Linked DNA regions of Homo sapiens: all the other regions are linked to region 4. The links are contacts of gene promoters, found by promoter capture Hi-C in blood cells and fetal thymus (Javierre and others, 2016). All regions are on one chromosome and are shown on one strand. The core of a region is centred on a gene start or on the middle of the fragment in contact, and the rest is flanking DNA. Distances in the headings are between cores, read along the strand shown. Region 1 has its middle 110 kb from the start of LINC01606. Region 2 overlaps BPNT2 (3'(2'), 5'-bisphosphate nucleotidase 2). Region 3 has its middle 92 kb from the start of LINC01606. Region 4 holds the start of PENK-AS1 (PENK antisense RNA 1). Region 5 has its middle 11 kb from the start of LINC01606. Region 6 has its middle 24 kb from the start of BPNT2.

Region 1 (2,830 bases), core at 201-2,700, 660 kb after region 4:
AACTGAACTCATGAACATAGAGAGTAGCAAGAAATTACCAGAGGCTGGGAAGGGTAGTAGAGGACTAAGGGAGAGGTGGGGATGGTTAATGGATACATAAAAAATAGAAAGAATGAGTAAGACTTACTATATGATAGCACAATGGGTGACTATAGTCAACAATAACTCAATTGTATATTTTTAAATAATTTCAAGAAGGTAATTAAATTGTTTGTAACTCAAAGGACAAAGGCTTGAGGAAATGGATACCCCATTCTTCACATTATATCCCTGTATCAGAACATCTTATGTACCCCATAAATATATACGTCTACTATGTGCCCACAAAACATTTTAAAAATAATTTAAAAATTTTTTAAAGAAAATAATTGTGAATAAATTTCACAATTACAATAATGATACTACCATTTAAAAATGTACAATACAGTTCTTTCACTGATCTCTTGGCTCATCATTTAAATAATTTTAATGATACAGTACTTCTTGAAACTCTAAAGGTACAAATGGGACATGCCCTATGCTCCCTACAAGTATGCAAGGTCAACTGTAAATGACAAAGAGGTAGCAAGAGTGTCAGCATCAGTGCACATAAATTCATATATCAAAGTATATTTTTCTTTCTTGTCTCTTAATTGATGCACTTAATGAACTCTTATGGACACTGCCCATTGCATAAAGTCAAAGATGGCTGGTTAGGTGATAATAAGTGTAAGCTATTATGTGAAGTTCAAAGGAAGTTGTATTGCACTGAAAGTGTTCCTCTGTGAAATCTATATTTTTATTTTATGTTTAGGAAAATTAAAAAGAAAAAAATGCACCACAGGAATCATTGTCATGACATGCTTTTCATATTCTTTTAAAAAACAATCCATCTGTTTTGGCTTCCAGAAAATCTGCCAAGAAATAAAGATGTTGTAATTAACTGTAATGAATATGTTAACAGGAAATATCCACTAAGCTAACACATCATCTTGTCATGCCCTAATGTAATGTACTCCTGGCATTAATGAGAAAGCATTCAAGGAAGGCAGATAAGCTTGAATGCACTTTTAACTGGTCATGCAGCAGTTTTTAACTGCTTGAATTTTGAGACCTTCTTTAAACTTAGACCAAAAGTGTTCTAAGGACTGTTGTTTGGCAGCTGCATTCCTGTAGCATACTATTGATAAAATAGACCAAAAAACATAGGATATTCTGTCCAGGGGATCTCAGTATTTGAATACTGGCTCGATTACCTACTAGTTATATGATAGGGTAAGTTATTTAAACTTTCTGAGGTTTAATGACCTCATTTGAACCATAGGGAAAGTAAAAGTTGTCTTAGAGGGTTTTGTGAAGATTACAAGCAATTAGTGTATGTGAAATGAAGACTCATTAGATCTATTCAGTAAATATTACTTTCCTTTTTCTATATAAGACTATTTATGCATATTTAACCATAGCACCAAATCAACACTCGGCGCAACTTAATATTTTTTTGACAGTATGGAGTTGAAAGGGACTATAGGGCTCTTCTTCCTGGGCAGCTCAGTGGTTCTGCTGTGCTCCCATATAAACAAATGACAATCTAAAAATTACACTAGGGACAATTATCTCTAACTATGTTGGGTTTACTCAGAAGTAAAAATAAGGATTATAATCTGAAATGCACGAAATGGCAAGCCACCAGTCCATTCAGTGAGAGGGTTGTATGGGGACCTTTCACCAGCTAAAAAGAGATTTACTAAGCTGCTTAGAATCAGAGTCCATTGGTTCCAGAGGTTCAAAGCCAGACTGGTTGTCAGTTCATTGGCGGAGATGCCCTTACTGGGCAAGTGTTCTAAGAAAATCTTATCTGAATACTGCAGTTCTAATGTCTAGTGATAAAGCTTATCCAAACAAAATATGCATGAAGGACATGAAAGAGTTTTTAGAAAGTCCTTGGTTCACATTTCAGACACATAAACATGAGTCTTCCCTCTTTTGGGCCTTCCCAGACCTATATTTTCTGGATCTGATGAAAGGGATTCCATCCTGGTATATGCAACTTTCACGCAGACGTTAGAAACCAATACAGTGCAGGTGTTATGAGCCTTTGTTACCACTGAGGGCAGCATGTGGATCCCACAGGTAGGGCACTGTAGTGGTTTGCTATTGTGAATAACTAATTGTCATAAATTCAGTGCTTATAAAAACACTCATTTAATTTCCTGTTTCTATGGGTCAGGAATGGGCCTGGCTTGATTGGGTCATCTGCTCAGGGTCTCCCAAAGCTGCAGTGAAGGTGTCAGCTGCACTGTCGTCCTTGCCTAGAGTGTGGGGTCTTCCTCCAAGCTCATTTTCATGTTGGTGGACTTAAGTTCTTTGTGGTGATACAATTGAGGCTTTCAGCCTAGACAAAGCCCCTCTCCATAGGTGGTTTATACCATGGCTGTTTGCTTTCTTCTCTGAGGCCCCCAGGAGAGTGTGTCTTGGATGCTTCACCTTCTCTCAAAGGCTCCTTTCATTATGCCAGTGTTATCCAGGATTATACTGCTTTTGAACTCAAAGCTAATTGATTATTGGTTAAATCATAATACTGATACTCCAATATAGTCCATTCCACACTCAAGGCGAGGGGATTCTCAGTACATGTGCAAGACAGGCACACATCTTGGAATTCTGCCCACTACAGTCATGTGGCCAGGGCCAGTGAGACATCTTCAGAAAAAAGGCAATCTTCAAAGTGATCTTAGGCTGTGATTCTCAAAGAAGATCTGTGCTTTTTGCTGATAAACTACATTTAATCTGAAACGGCCACAGCATTCTCAGTGTTAGTTGACTGGTGGCTATAGACGCTGGAATTACCAGA
Region 2 (2,868 bases), core at 120-2,619, 520 kb after region 4:
CCTATAATCCTAGTACTCTGGGAGGCCAAGGTCGGAGGATCACTTGTTGAGCCCAAGAGTTAAAGGCTGCAGTGAGCTATGATCATGCCACTGCACTTCAGCCTGGGCAACAGAGTGAGATCTTGTCTCTAACAAAATAAAAAAATTAGGAGAGGACCTAAACATCTACACTGAGAGACATACTGAGTACATGGGAAATTTGCCCAGAATGCCAATTCTAAAAGACATCATAGTTACATCATTGAAGTTTAGTGGGTTGAATGAACAGTATCCTACCAAACTTCATGTCCACTTGGAACCTTCAGATTGTGAACTCATTTGGAAGCAGGATCTTTGCAAATGCAATTAGTTCAGCTGAGGTCATAGTGGAGTAAGGTGGGCTCTAAATCTAATGACAGGTGAGCTCTAAATCTAATGACTGGTGTCCTTATAAGCAGGGGAGACAGAAAGGAGACTGTCATGTGAAGATAGGCAGAGACTGGCTGGAGTGATGCATCTACTGACTAAGGAATGCCAACAATGTCTGGAGCCACCAGAAGCTGCAAGAGAAAACTTCCTCCAAGCCTGCAGAGAAAGTATGGCCCCACTGACTCCTTGATACCAGACTTCTGGCCTCCAAAACTTTGAAAGAATAATTTTCTGTTGTTTCAAGTTTGTGGTTAACTTGTTACGACAGCCCGAGGAAACTAATACAGAGTGAACCAAAGACTGTATAACTAGCCAAGTAGTCTTTTAAGTATCAAGACTATAGACAAAGTTGTTAGCATGTACTCAGGGAAGATCATACCATGAGTTAGCTCTTCTAAGGTAATCTATTACAGGACAAGCTTTATCCAACCAAGGGGTGACTGAGAAACTCTTAGCAAATGCATTGTCGGTTACCATTGAACAAATTTAACTGTGGATTTAAGGGGAAACCAAAGATGGGAATAAGGTAAAAGAATAAAGGTGTATAAATGGTTTTCTCATACTTGGCTGATAAAAGTTAAAGGACACCATTTAACTCTGACAAGCTGAACAGCAGAGTCGAAAAGTAAACATCAAAAAAAAACAACTGTCTAAAATGAAATGATGGTCAAGGATGAAATATGCTAATTTCACTGACGCTTATAGTAGTGAACCAAGAGACAATGAGACAATGTCTAAAGAAAAGGACTACATGAGTATGTAAAGAAAAAAGGATAAATAAAGGCATTAGTAAAAGCAACAAAAAGAACAAATTTAACTTAAAATAACAGTAGTTGTCTGAACCACACTGAACATATAAAATTCATTAAGATCATAAGAATATTTTACAGAGAGGAAGCCTGTTCCTTCCTGGAAAAACATGTTACCGCTGGAAGGGTTCTATACTCTAACTCCTTACTCTGAAAATTGGTAAATAAAGTAAAAGAATTAAACATTTATCCCGCTTTTCTAGAAGAAACATTTCAGGATAAACAAATTAATTCCAGTTAATAGAGAAAATTCTCTATAGAAGAATTCATGCTAATATATGTAGAAACAACAGAAACAGAAAATCTCATTTTATAACATCTTTAATAGAGCTTAAAACTATTATGCAAAAGGTTTAATAAAACTGGATCTCAAATGATGTCAAAATCTCTCCAGATTACTTGCTAGTAGCAAAAAAATAAAAATTTTGTAACTAAGAGATCAGGTCATGAACACTTTAATCATCTGAGCATCATGAATGGCGAGACAAGTATTGTGTAATATGATGCAGTAGGAAGTATGTGAAAAATACCTACAATGTATTCATGACAAAAATGCTTAACCTCAATCCAATCAAGGATTCAGATCTAATCTGCACTTTTTATAAGAGGATATAAAAATAAAGAAGTTAAATGACACCCTTTGGAAACAATCAGACAAGTCCAAAAGACAGACCATTCTAAAGGAGAAATGACTTAAGCTTCCCAACATCAATGTCATGGGGGGCATAAGGGGCCTAGGGGTTGTTCTAGATTAAGAAACCTTAACAACCTATCAACCAAAATAAATGCTTGTTGGTTGACTGGATCTTGGTTTGAAGCAATCAGCTGTAAAATCCATTTTAGCAGCAATCGGGGAAATGTAAATATTTGATGACATTAGGAAATAACTGTTAATTTTATTATATTAATATACTGTCCTTTTGTAGAAAATCTCCTTACTTTTTAGAGATGCATACTGAAGTATAAGGGTAAAATGTTTATTATGATCCTTATAATTTTCTTTAAGGTACACAGGCCAAAAAATAGGAAAGCAAATATGTAAAACTGTTATCAACTGCTAAATCAGGATGAAGGGGTATATAAGTATTCATTATAATTTTACGTTTGTTTGAAATTATTCATAAAAGTAAAAAAAAATGAAGAGAACAAAACAAAAAATCCTCTTAATCCTTTTCATAAATATTCCAAAAACCAGTTTTACTAAGAAGTGAATTTACAGTGCTTTATCTCTAGAGGTCAGTATTGTGTAAGAGAATAAAAATATTATAGCATATCTCAGTACATACTACCAGAATAATGTAAGAATTGCTGACTTAGTATTTTTAAAAATGTTCTTCATGTTACATAAACTCAATACATTTATTAGTAACACTTACATGAACATAATTATTTCAAGTGTCTAGTACAGTAGGTGCTTAAATAAATGTAAATGATGGATGATAATGAGGTATAGTGGTAAGGCAGAAGAGCAGCTACAAAATGTGTTTATTTTACCTGTAAGATAAGCTTAAAAAAAAAAAAAAAAAAGCCCAGTAGGAAATAAAAAGTGGTTGGTTGGTACGTTCCTACACCTACTTCAGAAATAACAATTTATTATTAATAGCTATAAAATTTCCACCGAGTGAATATACACTTGACCCTTGAACAACAC
Region 3 (2,972 bases), core at 77-2,576, 680 kb after region 4:
ATCATTCAACGGTGGTGGCAGTTGTTATTGTATTGTTATAACTTGTAATAGTGTTTTCCATAACTACTTCATTCCAGTCTAGCAGAGATGTATTTGTCCCTTGACTACCAGGTAAATTATAGCTGCATACCTGTTGCTACTGTGAATGCAGGGTAGGAACAACTACTTGGATCAAGCACAATGGTACCCAGGACTGGACTTTTTTCCCTTCCATTAGTCCAGATTTTAACATTCCTAAACAGCAATAACATTCCTAAGTATTTTTGTGACTTCCATGTGCAACTGAGGTCTTGGGCAATGTGAAATGTCCAGATTGAGATGGTGAAGCCCCAGTGTGCCAGGATCAACTCCTCCCTGGGGTGCAAAGATTAAGCTTTCTTAGAATTACGCTTGAAGTCAAGGTGCTAATTTTTTTTTGTCTTTGACAAATTATTATGGAAATGCTGATCTCTGAGTTCTTTGCTCAGAGGAAGCATAAATGAGTGCCAAACAAGAACTTAAGTTATACTTCTGGCATTCTGAAGATGTCAGGTAAAGGGCCAAGGAAAGGAGTATGCCACTTTTCCTATAAGCTGAAGAGGATATGAAATATATGATTCTCTTATATGATTTTATTGATTTAAAAGGTACACTAAGCCACAGAACTAATGGCATTTCTAAAAGTAAGCTTTTGGTTTATTCCCTTTGTCACTGTAGAATACTAGCCATGGGTATATTTATATTTTATTTTATTTTACTTTATTTTATTTTAGACAAAGCTGAAAGAGCACACTGTAACACACATCACACCACTTGGGCAGCCACCCACTCCTAGATGCTACCATGGGACCGGAGCCCCACAGCACGTGCCCCGGCTCCTGCACCTGCCCATCTGCTTGCTCCCCCTCCCATAGGGGGTTTGAGCACACGGTGGCTGAACACAGTAGCCACACCTCTGCCACATGTCCTGCATGGAATATCAGGGAATTCCCCCATCTCAATAATAGTGTGGATTATAACTTATAGAATAAAACAGGTATCCATGACCCCATGTGGATATAAATAAGTGATTGAATAAATACATATATGGGTGAAAAGAGAAGGCTTTCCCTTACAGAATAATTCTAATTAATATATGAAGAAGATATGGAGGAAATACAAAATTACTATTAGGCAAATACCACAAGAATAATTGCTGTAGGCAAGATTCACCAATGGATACTAAAATTAATGTTGGGGAGAAACAGCATATGTAGTCTCAAATTATTTCTCACAAAATATTGGTGAATTATAAAAGAAAAATAGTAATTTTACAGTGGAGAAACTGCACACACTGTCTTAATCAAGTGTTCAAGGTTAGAAATATCAGTAATAAGGCACATTGACAGCATGTATGACCTGATATACTGCACTAAGAAAGGCACAACATCACTTCTGTGCCATTCTCACATAAAATGCATAATCTCAGTCTAATCAATCTCAGTCTAATCATGAGAAATCTAAAGTAAGGACCATTCTATGAAATAACTGATCAGCAATTATCAAAAGTATTAAGGTCATAGCAAACAAGGAAAGAATGAGGATTGGAGGAGGTATTGCCAATTGGAGGGGACTAAAAAGATATAACTGAATACACTGTGGGAACAGAAAAGAAGATTAGCAAAAAACTGGTGAAGTTTGAACAAAGTCTGGCTTGAAGTTTAGTTAATAGCATTATATTAATGTTAATTTTCTGATTTCATTAACTGTGCTGTGATTATGCAAGATGCTAGTATTAGGGAAGTTGGGTGAAGTGTATATGAGAACTCTTTCATCCAAGTGCTAACCAGACCAAACCCTGCGTAGGTTCCGAGATCAGACAAGATCAGGTGTGTTCAGAGTGGTATGGTAGACTATGAGAACTCTTTGTACTATGTCTGTGACTTTTCTATAAATCTAGAATTATTTAAAAGTAAAAAGTTTTTAAAAATTCCTGGCACCTCACTTTGATTATTTCAAAACTTGTTTTAAGCTTTGCTAAGGTTAGTCTATTCCAGTTTTGTCCTTAGTTTTAAGGTTTTGGTCCTTAATTAGTCCTGGGATTAATTAGCACAGGTGTTTTCCCTTTTTTTGTTTGTTTTTAGATTTGAAGGATTTAAAAAATCTTTTTAAATTTAAATCGTTGTTTGGGTACAGGTGGTTTTTGGTCACACAGGTAAGTTCTTTAGTGGTGATTTCTGAGATTTTATTGCAGCCATCACCCGAGCAGTGTACATTGTACCCAATATGTGGTCTTTTATCCCTCACTCTTCTTCCAACCTTCCTCCCTGAGTCCCTAAAGTCCATTATGTCATTCTTATGCCTTTGCGTCCTCATAGCTTAGCTCCCACTTATAAGTGAGAACATATGATATTTGACTTTGCATTCCTGAGTTACTTCACTTAGAATAATGGCTTCCAGCTCCATCAAAGTTGCTGCAAAAGACATTATATCATTTTTTTTTAATGGTGAGTAGTATTCCACGGTGTATATATACCACATTTTTTTTATTGACTCTTTGGTCAATGGGTACTTAGGTTGATTCTATATCTTTGCACTAGTGTTTTCTATTATGTATTTGAACTACAGCTATAAAATAGTGAACTTGTCCTTATTATGTGAACTTTTTGGGGCTTCAATGAAAAGTCTGAATTCCTCTAACTAAGTATTTCTAACTTGGTGAGGCTTTTCCTTTTAACAGTAGGGTGAGCCACATATAGAAGAATTACTTTTCATGCAGCAAGCCTCCCCAGCATCAGGCTCACAGCTGGGCTCCTGGCATTCTCTTCTCACACATGCAGTTTTGTCTTTGATCAGTCATCTCTAAAAATCACCTGTTTGTCAATCTCTGTCCTTTTCCTCTACTTTGTCTTTTTCTTCCTATTGGTTATCACTACCTTATTACATTTCTTGTACAACAACATCACATTATGTTATACTGTGTTACTATAATCTCTTTCCTAGAAAATAAGCAA
Region 4 (2,700 bases), core at 188-2,687:
CATGTTGAGCAGGCAAAGCTCAAAATATGTGTGACTGGGCACAGGGAATTATGGGGTCAGAAAGTGGAGTCTTCTATGTGGCATGTTTTGGATTTTTCTTCCTCCTTCTGTGTCTAAAATTCTTTATCCACAAGATCTATCCTTATATTTGTAGCACTGGCTCAATTTTTAGGCATAGGTTAAAAGCTCATGACTACAGGAGAAAGAAGAAAGATGGGTGAAGGGGATTGTTTCTCCTATTGAAGATGAAACATTTTTCTCATAGTTTAAATATACAACCTTCCTATGTGTCTTCTCTTTAATGCCAAGTTAGCACAGGTCAAAGAAACAAACATTTAACCTGAAATATATACCACAGATATTTGGAAACTGTTCCTTGGTTTTCTCCCCATTTCAAACATCTACATAAGGTAAAATTTCCTCAATTCCAGGTGGAACCCAAAGCAGCTTGGATGAATACATTATTCTCTATGAGCTTTTTAAGTCACCATAAAATTTCAACAAATTTCAAAAGCAATGCAAAGGAATTGTCAGGGGAGCTGGTAAAAGTGAAGCTACCTGAGTCTCGAGGTTGGAGATTCAGACTCAGTAGAGCACCAGAGGTGATTCGACAGCCCATGGGGAACCATGATCAGAATGAAAGTTATTTTGTCCTCAGCTTTTTCTTTCCCCAACCCCCTGTAGTGCAGTGTATCTTTGGACTGTTGTCACCCATTGGACACTGGCCACTTCTCTTGTTCCTTTCTCATAGCCAAATTAAACTGTTGTTTTAGTTACTATTACAAAGGGCAGTTGAAACAGAAGTTGAATTCCAGCATCACTGGCTAGTGAGACAGTTTGAACTCTTTCCTGTCTACGGTTATTTCGCCTTCCTCTCCCCGTACCCCTTTTCCATCCCTTTGCTCTCTCCTATTTACAGGTGAGGGTAGGGAATGAGGGACCTGAGGTTAAGAGAGCTGGGGAACATAAATCTAAAGAAAGGCACCGAAATGTCACTAACAAAAAATTACATTATTTGTGGGAAAGATGGGAAGATGACTGCGTGTGGAGGGGCCCTTAGCTGGGATATGTTAGGAGTTGTGGTGACAGCCATCTTCCTTCTGACAGCCCAGGAGAGAACCCAGTGCTATCCGAGGTGCTGAACAGAGGACTTCTCGGGGTTCCCGAATTCCCAGGGTTAAAACAAACTTGGTTTGTGCGGCGACACCGCTACCCTTACCGGTCCCCAGATAGTCGCGGATCCCCGAAGCTAAGAGCCAGGGCAGGACTTCAGTCAGTGTTCCAGGAACAGCTGAGACACCCAGGTCACCACGGGCTCGCGCCGCTGCGGCTCCGACCCGGTGCGAACCGCCATACGCGCCGCGCGGTGGGCCGGAGGCAGTCCGCGTACTGTTGCGGAAACTCTGTCTCACAAGGTGCGCAACACTCGCCGCGCGCAACACTCACCAGGAAGTTGATGTCGGCCGGGCGCACTAGGCGGTAGCTGCACGTCGCGCAATCCTGGCTGCATTCGGCCCGCACGGTCGCCAGGAGCCCGGGGCCGAGCAACAGCAGCCAAGTGCAAAGTGTCAGGAACCGCGCCATGGACTGCGAGGAGAGAGGGACGCGTGCTTCGAGCCTGCCTGGGCGCAGAACGGGGTCCCTCGGCAGGACCCTCGCCGCGACAGCCTCAGCAGGGGATCGTCGAGCAAAAGCCCGCAGGAATGCTCCTTTCTGGGGCCCCGCCCTCCCGGCCGACAGCTTTTAGGTAGACGTGGAGGCGACTCAGATCGCCTCGCGGTTCCCGGGATGGCGCGGTCGCCCCCAACGCGAGGCTGCCTGGGGCACCCGGCTCTTTTCCTGGGCGTCCGCGGCCCAGGGCAAGATTCCGGAGAGAACGCCGCAGACCAGGGGCGAGAGAGCGGGAGCCGGGGGAGGCAGGACATTGACTGGGGTCACAAAGAAGAACCAGGGAACGCTGTTGGGGAACCCATGCAATGAAATGTGAAGGGAAAGAGGGCGGGCAGACGTCCCCAAACCCGCTCAGCAAAGACAAGCTTCGGGCAAATTCACTCACGTTGACGCTGTTCGGATGGAGCAGGCCAATTGGAAAAGCCGGGTTCAGACACGACTCTAGAGGGAAGAGAAGAAGGCAAGTGTGAGGAGGGCGGGCGTCGGGGAGAAGCGGGCCCGGGTGTGCTGGCGGACGTAGGGCCTCACCGTCGCGGTCCTCAGCGTCTCTGCGGGGTCACGGGCCAGGCTGCGGGGCTCTGAGCGCCTGCCTCGCCGTCCCGGGGCTTAACGGCTGCTGGAGCCACTTTATAATTAGCCCCAAACCGAAGGAGGCGCGCGCGCCCCAATCGCCGGCGGGCTGCAGCTGACGCAGGCCCTACGCCAGCCCCGCGCCGACGCCTTCGCGGGAGGGGTCGGTCCCCCAGCACCCGCGCGCCGCTCCCCCCGCCGAGCTCGGGTGGGGGCCACAGGGGGCGCTCGGTGGCTCCCCACACGGCCAGGTGACAAACCCAAGGCAGTTAGGAAGTTTGGGGAGAGTGAGATAGGATCAAGTTTCTCCGCATAAAGTCACTGAAATTGCACCGTGGGATGCGGGCTCCAGGGAGGGAAGCGAGGTGGGGGCGTTTGGAAGGATAGATGGACTGGCTTAGACTTCTGGAATGTGCTGGAGACCCAGCGGGCCGGTGAACCTGCCCCTTTCCCGCCTCC
Region 5 (2,700 bases), core at 124-2,623, 760 kb after region 4:
TGGCACACGGTAGAGTGAGAGACCGAGGCACGCATTAGAGCAGGGGCGAAAGTTCCTGAAATGGTATCGTGGCAGGAGCCAAAGGAAGTCAAGGAGGCTTGGAAGAGGCCCAGGTGGGCGGTGACCTGAGAGGTGGAGTACAGGACTGGACCTTGGACTCAGGGTCTCCCGCGTCGGCAGCATCGCTGCCTGTCCTCTGATGCTTCCCTCGGCGGGGAAGAGGGGGCTGTTCACTAGCACAGTGGCCTGTCACCATCTCATGGGGGCGCGGAGGCGCCGTGTGCTTACTGGAGTTGTTCTCATGCTCTCTTGAGGCGTTCGTCCCACAAGCAGATGAATGTGCCCAGGGGAAAACATCCCAGATCAGTGAACCTTCCACCAGTTTGCCTCTCAGGGTGCACGTATGAGCCCATTCACCCAACTCCCGAGGTGTGCTGGGGAGGCTTCTGAGGTTCGTGACTGCTGTCGGGGAGGGGGACTGCCTTTCCCTGGTGCTGCCTGTGATCAGTGATTTCTCTAGAGAGTCTGCTTCGTGACCACCGGGCCATCACCTTGTGGCTGCCTGATGTTTACTGGTGGTGGGGAACCCTCTCGGGCCCCGCTCCACACGTGTGACTGAGAGGGACACCTGACAGGATTGAACGCGTGGCAGATCATCCGACGAGATGGAGTGTCTGGTGGAAGGAACATCTGACAGCCCTGAGCGTGTGGCAGAGGGAACATCTAAGCAGACTGCAGCGATTTCAGAAGGAACGGCTAAGAACATCGCATGGTCAGCAGGAGGAAACCTTAGGGTAGGGTGATTGCAGGGGTGCTGGGGGGCAAGGGAACCCGTGAGAAGACTGCGGGATCAGCAGTTGGATGCCCTAGGGAGATTGCAAGGCCTGCCCAAGAGACATCTGGGTAGAGGAAGTATTGGGCCCATGGTGCGCCAGACAAAACTGAATGCTTGTCAGGGGAAGAAGTGGACGCAACTGGCTGTTTGGCAGAGGGAACCCTCAGGTAGATTGCACGTTTGGCAGAAGGCCCAAGTGTGAAGATGACATGGTAGACAGCAGAAACCCTTTAGCAGGTCGCACGGTGGGCAGAAGGAACCTCTGAGCAGATTCCATGGTGGGCAGACGGAATGCCTAGGAAGAGTGCGTGGCTTGCAAAGGAAGCATCTGGAAAGAGGGAACATCTGGGAGAGAAAACATCCACCAAGATGGAGCGTTTGGCGGTAGGGATGTCAGCGGTGGCAGATCCATAGGGGCCTGCAGGCAGCAACCCGAGCTCTCACCTCATCAGAGGGAGTTTAACTGAGGGGCGTGAGGCGGAGTGAAAGAGACCGAGGCCTGTTTGAGCGCAGGAGTGCAGGTCTCCCAGATGGTACCAGAGCAGAAAGACGAGGCAGTAAGGTATACTTGGAAGAGGGCCATGTGGGCAACTGGAGAGGTCGGGGGCACGCTTTGTTCGACCTTTGAGGCGAGGTCTCACACATTGGCAGGCTTCCAAGAGCCAGGGGTTGCATTGCTTCCTCCCCTGAGCCTTTTCTCAGGGTGGGCCATCCACATGGGCAGTGGCCTGTCATCACCTGGGAGGGACCGCAGGCGTGGCGTGTTTCCTGGAGTCATAGGGGCGCTCACATGAGGCGTGCCTCCCTTGGCAGTCGGATGTTGCCTGGGGAGGGTCGTAGGACAGTAAAACCCGGCCGGTTTGCCTGTGAGTGTGCAAGCATGAGCCCCGTCACGCGCCCCCTGAGATCTTCTCAGGGAGCTGCTAATCGCCACCTTCCGGGGTTTCTGTCTGTCTGGGGGACCGCCCGTCCCTGGCACCGGCTCCCGGCAATCATTTATTATTTGAGACAGGTAGTTTAATGGCAGCCTGACCCGTCGCCTCCTGGTCGCCTGATGTGTCTGGTGGGGTGTGGGCGTGGCCCTCTCCCGCGCTGCTCCTGTCTGACCAGCCGCCCACGGTAACACAGAAACATCTGGCAGGATGGAGTGGTTGGCGGAAGACACATCTGACGAGATCGAATGTTTTGCAGAAGAGCCATGTGACGGGATCCGTGGTTTGGCAGAGGAGACATGCGAGAAGACGGAACGTTTTGTCCGAATAGACATCTGGCAGGGTGGAACGGAGAGAACAGGTATGGTGGAGAGAACGTCTGAGAAGGTCGCAGGATTCGCAGGAGCATCGGGAAAAGATTGCCTGCTTGCCCGAAGGAATGGCAAGTTCCAAAGGTCAGAGGCTCGCGTGAACTCTGTCGGGTTCGAGAGCAGCTCAGTGTTGCTGGTGGCAAGAGTGTGGTACGGGAATGGTTGGGTGTGGTTTGAATGTCTAGAAAAGGCGAGCTGAGGGTAGATTTTTGAGCGGTCCAGAGCAGAAGGGGTAGAGGATATATTCTGTGGGCCACGGCCACATTCTCAGGATGCTCGTGGCTGTAAATAGTAGATGACCCAAGTAAGAGCGGCTGAAGCCATAGGCACCAGAATTGTGTCAGCATCGTCGTGTCATGCTCATGTTTTCCCTTCCAGCTGTGCTGTGGGCAGTGTTTAGTTCATGTCTGCTTTGCTGGCGGGCCGAGTAGCAACAGCTGCAGTTGGTGTGTTCTCTGAAGGCAGTATCCGAAGGCTGGAGGGGTTGCTTTTCTTCCCAGGTGTCTTTTGAAGAGGCAGTCAAGTCAGCAGCTCGCGGTGAACTTCTGGTAACATCGTATGG
Region 6 (2,977 bases), core at 351-2,850, 570 kb after region 4:
TATCTTGATAGACATATATAATCTGGCATATTGATCTTCCTTTCTGGCTATTTCCTTTAACTCCTGCTATCTCAGATATGCATTAAAGGTCATTGTTATATTTTATTCAACACTGGGGGGCTTTACAATATAAGGGTTCGGGAATTGGCATGCTCAGAAATTATTGAAACCAGAAATCACTTTGATTTTTTTCAAATCTGTGAAACATATATCCTTATGCATTTGAATTGGCTACTTTTCTTTCACCCTTTGCCAAGTTTTCCATGAGATAGTTTTTAAAATCAACTTAATATTGCTTGGGTCATATGAGCTTCATGATAAACCCTATGATCATTAACATAAACAGGAATGTGGCAAAGAAAAAATTAAGAACCTCTGTCTCAACATGAAGCCATAAGGCAGGGTTTTGTTTTGTTTTGTTTCTAATGAGGTAGTGATATAATTATGGTTAAGAGTGTGGGCTTTAAAGTCAGAAATTCAAGTTGGATCATATGAAGGCTCACTCAGTTTTAAACTACATAAACTTCAGTTGGGTTCTTAATCCCTCTAAGCTTTAGTTTGTGCATCTGTAAAAGTGGCTAGTAATAATAGCTACCACATGCATTGATGTGAGAATTAAATTCTATAACGAGTGCTTAATACAGAGCTGATCATACAGCAGGTACCTAATTAAAAGCTACCATTATTTTTATTATGTTTATTGTGTTTTCTGACTTAGGAATATTGCAAAAGATGAATTAAGGTGTTAGACAACTCCTCTTTTTGTTTTTCCCTGTAAAGGCTCATCTACTCTCATGTCCTGCATTTATATTTATATTTGAAAAGTGACAAACCCCCTAGACGGGCAGATATTCAAGTATTATTTCAATGTAAACCCTCAGCTGCCTCTTTCAGTTTTACTGGTCTTCCCTATTATTTGCAGTTTCTGCAAAGTATGGTAATTTATATGAACCAGAAAGACTTTAGAGCCTTTTAAATCTATTGTATTTGTTTAGTCTGATAATGATTTGGAATTAAGATACCTATTTTCCAGGTTTAGCGATACTCTACCTATCTCATGGGTTTTATATTAGGATCACAAGAAGTAACAAATGTTAAAGTGCACTGAAATTAGACTATACGAGTATCATAACAGCTACATAAAATAAAGTTATAAAATAGATAAAACTATGCCTGCATAATTTTGCTATTAAATATATGTTTAAATACATTAAGGATTTAAAACAAAAATTTATATATTACTGATTGGGGATAAGTTTGAAGAATTTATCTTGTTTCGTGATTGCTTGAGTTTCTATTGATGCTTTTGTATTTTGCTTTTGTAGATTTTATTAACATCATTTGAAAAATCTTTGGATCATTTATTTAGATTTTTAAGATAGGGTTTAGGAGACATTTATTCTGGCCAAGATTGAATAACAGGGACTAATTCACACTCCTGCCTAAACAACAAAAAACCTGGACAAAATATATAAAAACAATACTTCTCAGACATTCAACAACAGGAAGCTCATGATCCTGACTCCCAAAAGAAGGGAAGTAAGCAAGGTGAGGCTTGCGGTCATCTCTGTTTTCTGCTGCAGGCATTTAGTGAATTTTGGCACAGGAAGGAGTGAAGCAGGAACAGGGCCATATGAGGGAAAGTCCAGTGAGATCCAGAAGATGCAAAATTTAGAGAGATGTTTGCTGCCAGGGCCGTGCAGGCACAGAATTAGCCCAGAGGAAGAAGAATGTGGAGTCCTCCTTGAGCTGGGGAAGGTTAGGTGACAGGAATTCATAAGAAAGAGTCCAAAGTAAAAGGGATGATGCAGAAAAACAGTTCCAGATACCTGCATTGAGTACTCTTGACTTTCTGACTGATTATTCAGTTCTGCAGGTATAGAGTGACCCCAAGTGAATGAGAAAGGAAACATTATACAGGGCAGAACATTACTGTAGATAACATTGGGCTGGTTGTGGATATTGAGTTCTAGCCAACCAGCTAAAGCAACCATGCTGAACAACCAGAACATTCAGTAGAGACCAAAGAGCTGTCATTACTTAAGAGGAGAACCAAAGTAGTTTTAGAGTAAAGGCTAATCCAAACTCATCCTAACAAACCTAAAAACAAGTTTCAAAAGGGTCAAGTTGTTCTGCAATTAAATTAACTGCCTACCGGAAGAAAATGTGACAATTTTTAAAAGAAGTTAACAAAACTAGACAAACAACATTATATTAACAATAATAAGCACCCAATTAAAATTAGTACAGAGGTGAAGAAGCAGAAAAATGTCACATACAGAGGAGAAAAATCAGTTAATAGAGTCAGACTAAGAATGACATAGGTGACAGAATTAGCAGTCTAAAGGAAACATTAAAATAATGAAGAAAGAAATAAAATTTTCACTAAATTTAAGAAGATTGAAATTAAACAGGCAATGTTTTCTGACTATACCAGATTCAAGTTAAAAATCAATAACCAAAAGATACATGGAATATATCCAAACACTAGAACGTTACACACACACACACACACACACACACACACCTTAATAACACATGGGTCAAATAATCACAAGAAACATTAAAAAAATTTCAAACTGAATGATAAGAAAGCACAATATATCAAAACATGTGAGACATAAGTAGAGCAGAGCATAAAGCAAAATGTAAAGCTTTAAATTACTGTTAGAAAAAAGACTAACATTAATAATCTAAGCTTCTGACTTCATAAACTAGAAAAAACAACAATTTGAATTTAATAATAAGTAAAAGAAGGAACTAATAAATGTAGAAGCTAAAATCAGTAAAATTTTTAAATTGAAATAATATAATTCTGTAAACTCCTTCAGAAAATATAAGTTGATACTTTCCAACTCATTTTATGAATCCATCATGACTCTGATAGCAAAATCAGACAAAGGCATTGCAAGAAAAGAAAACTATGAACAATACCACTGATGAACATGGACAAAATAGCCCTTAACAAAGTTGTCAT

Evidence for each region. Contacts are between HindIII fragments. The CHiCAGO score rates a contact against its expected background, and 5 or more counts as called.
Region 1: a contact is called between a fragment that was not itself captured here and the fragment with the promoter of PENK-AS1 in region 4, in 2 of 17 cell types (naive B cells and total B cells). The highest score is 8.8, in naive B cells.
Region 2: a contact is called between a fragment that was not itself captured here and the fragment with the promoter of PENK-AS1 in region 4, in 1 of 17 cell types (naive B cells). The highest score is 6.2, in naive B cells.
Region 3: a fragment that was not itself captured here is called in contact with the fragment with the promoter of PENK-AS1 in region 4 in 1 of 17 cell types (M2 macrophages); the score reaches 5.3 in M2 macrophages.
Region 5: a fragment that was not itself captured here is called in contact with the fragment with the promoter of PENK-AS1 in region 4 in 1 of 17 cell types (erythroblasts); the score reaches 6.0 in erythroblasts.
Region 6: a fragment that was not itself captured here is called in contact with the fragment with the promoter of PENK-AS1 in region 4 in 1 of 17 cell types (naive B cells); the score reaches 5.3 in naive B cells.

What each region holds. Positions count from the first base shown.
Region 1 is chr8:57,105,664-57,108,493 of GRCh38, forward strand. No RefSeq gene overlaps it. Among named protein-coding and RNA genes, the nearest start is that of LINC01606, 110 kb to the right of the region's middle. RefSeq lists an enhancer at 2,072-2,658. The HindIII fragment of the contact is 832 bases long and covers 1,035-1,866 here.
Region 2 is chr8:56,968,544-56,971,411 of GRCh38, forward strand. All of the region lies in intron 3 of BPNT2 (3'(2'), 5'-bisphosphate nucleotidase 2), which reads right to left. Among named protein-coding and RNA genes, the nearest start is that of BPNT2, 24 kb to the right of the region's middle. The HindIII fragment of the contact is 1,088 bases long and covers 826-1,913 here.
Region 3 is chr8:57,124,888-57,127,859 of GRCh38, forward strand. It overlaps the pseudogene RNA5SP266. Among named protein-coding and RNA genes, the nearest start is that of LINC01606, 92 kb to the right of the region's middle. The HindIII fragment of the contact is 1,323 bases long and covers 666-1,988 here.
Region 4 is chr8:56,444,370-56,447,069 of GRCh38, forward strand. PENK-AS1 (PENK antisense RNA 1) reads left to right here and starts at 1,438. Exons shown (of 4, transcript NR_125813.1): 1 at 1,438-2,131. It overlaps PENK (proenkephalin), which reads right to left and starts at 2,272. Exons shown (of 4, transcript NM_001135690.3): 1 at 2,200-2,272; 2 at 2,057-2,112; 3 at 1,447-1,587. The coding sequence starts at 1,584. RefSeq lists an enhancer at 1,043-1,934. The HindIII fragment of the contact is 3,142 bases long and covers 1-2,034 here.
Region 5 is chr8:57,205,983-57,208,682 of GRCh38, forward strand. No RefSeq gene overlaps it. Among named protein-coding and RNA genes, the nearest start is that of LINC01606, 11 kb to the right of the region's middle. RefSeq lists an enhancer at 1-63. The HindIII fragment of the contact is 3,082 bases long and covers 1-2,700 here.
Region 6 is chr8:57,016,073-57,019,049 of GRCh38, forward strand. No RefSeq gene overlaps it. Among named protein-coding and RNA genes, the nearest start is that of BPNT2, 24 kb to the left of the region's middle. The HindIII fragment of the contact is 2,103 bases long and covers 550-2,652 here.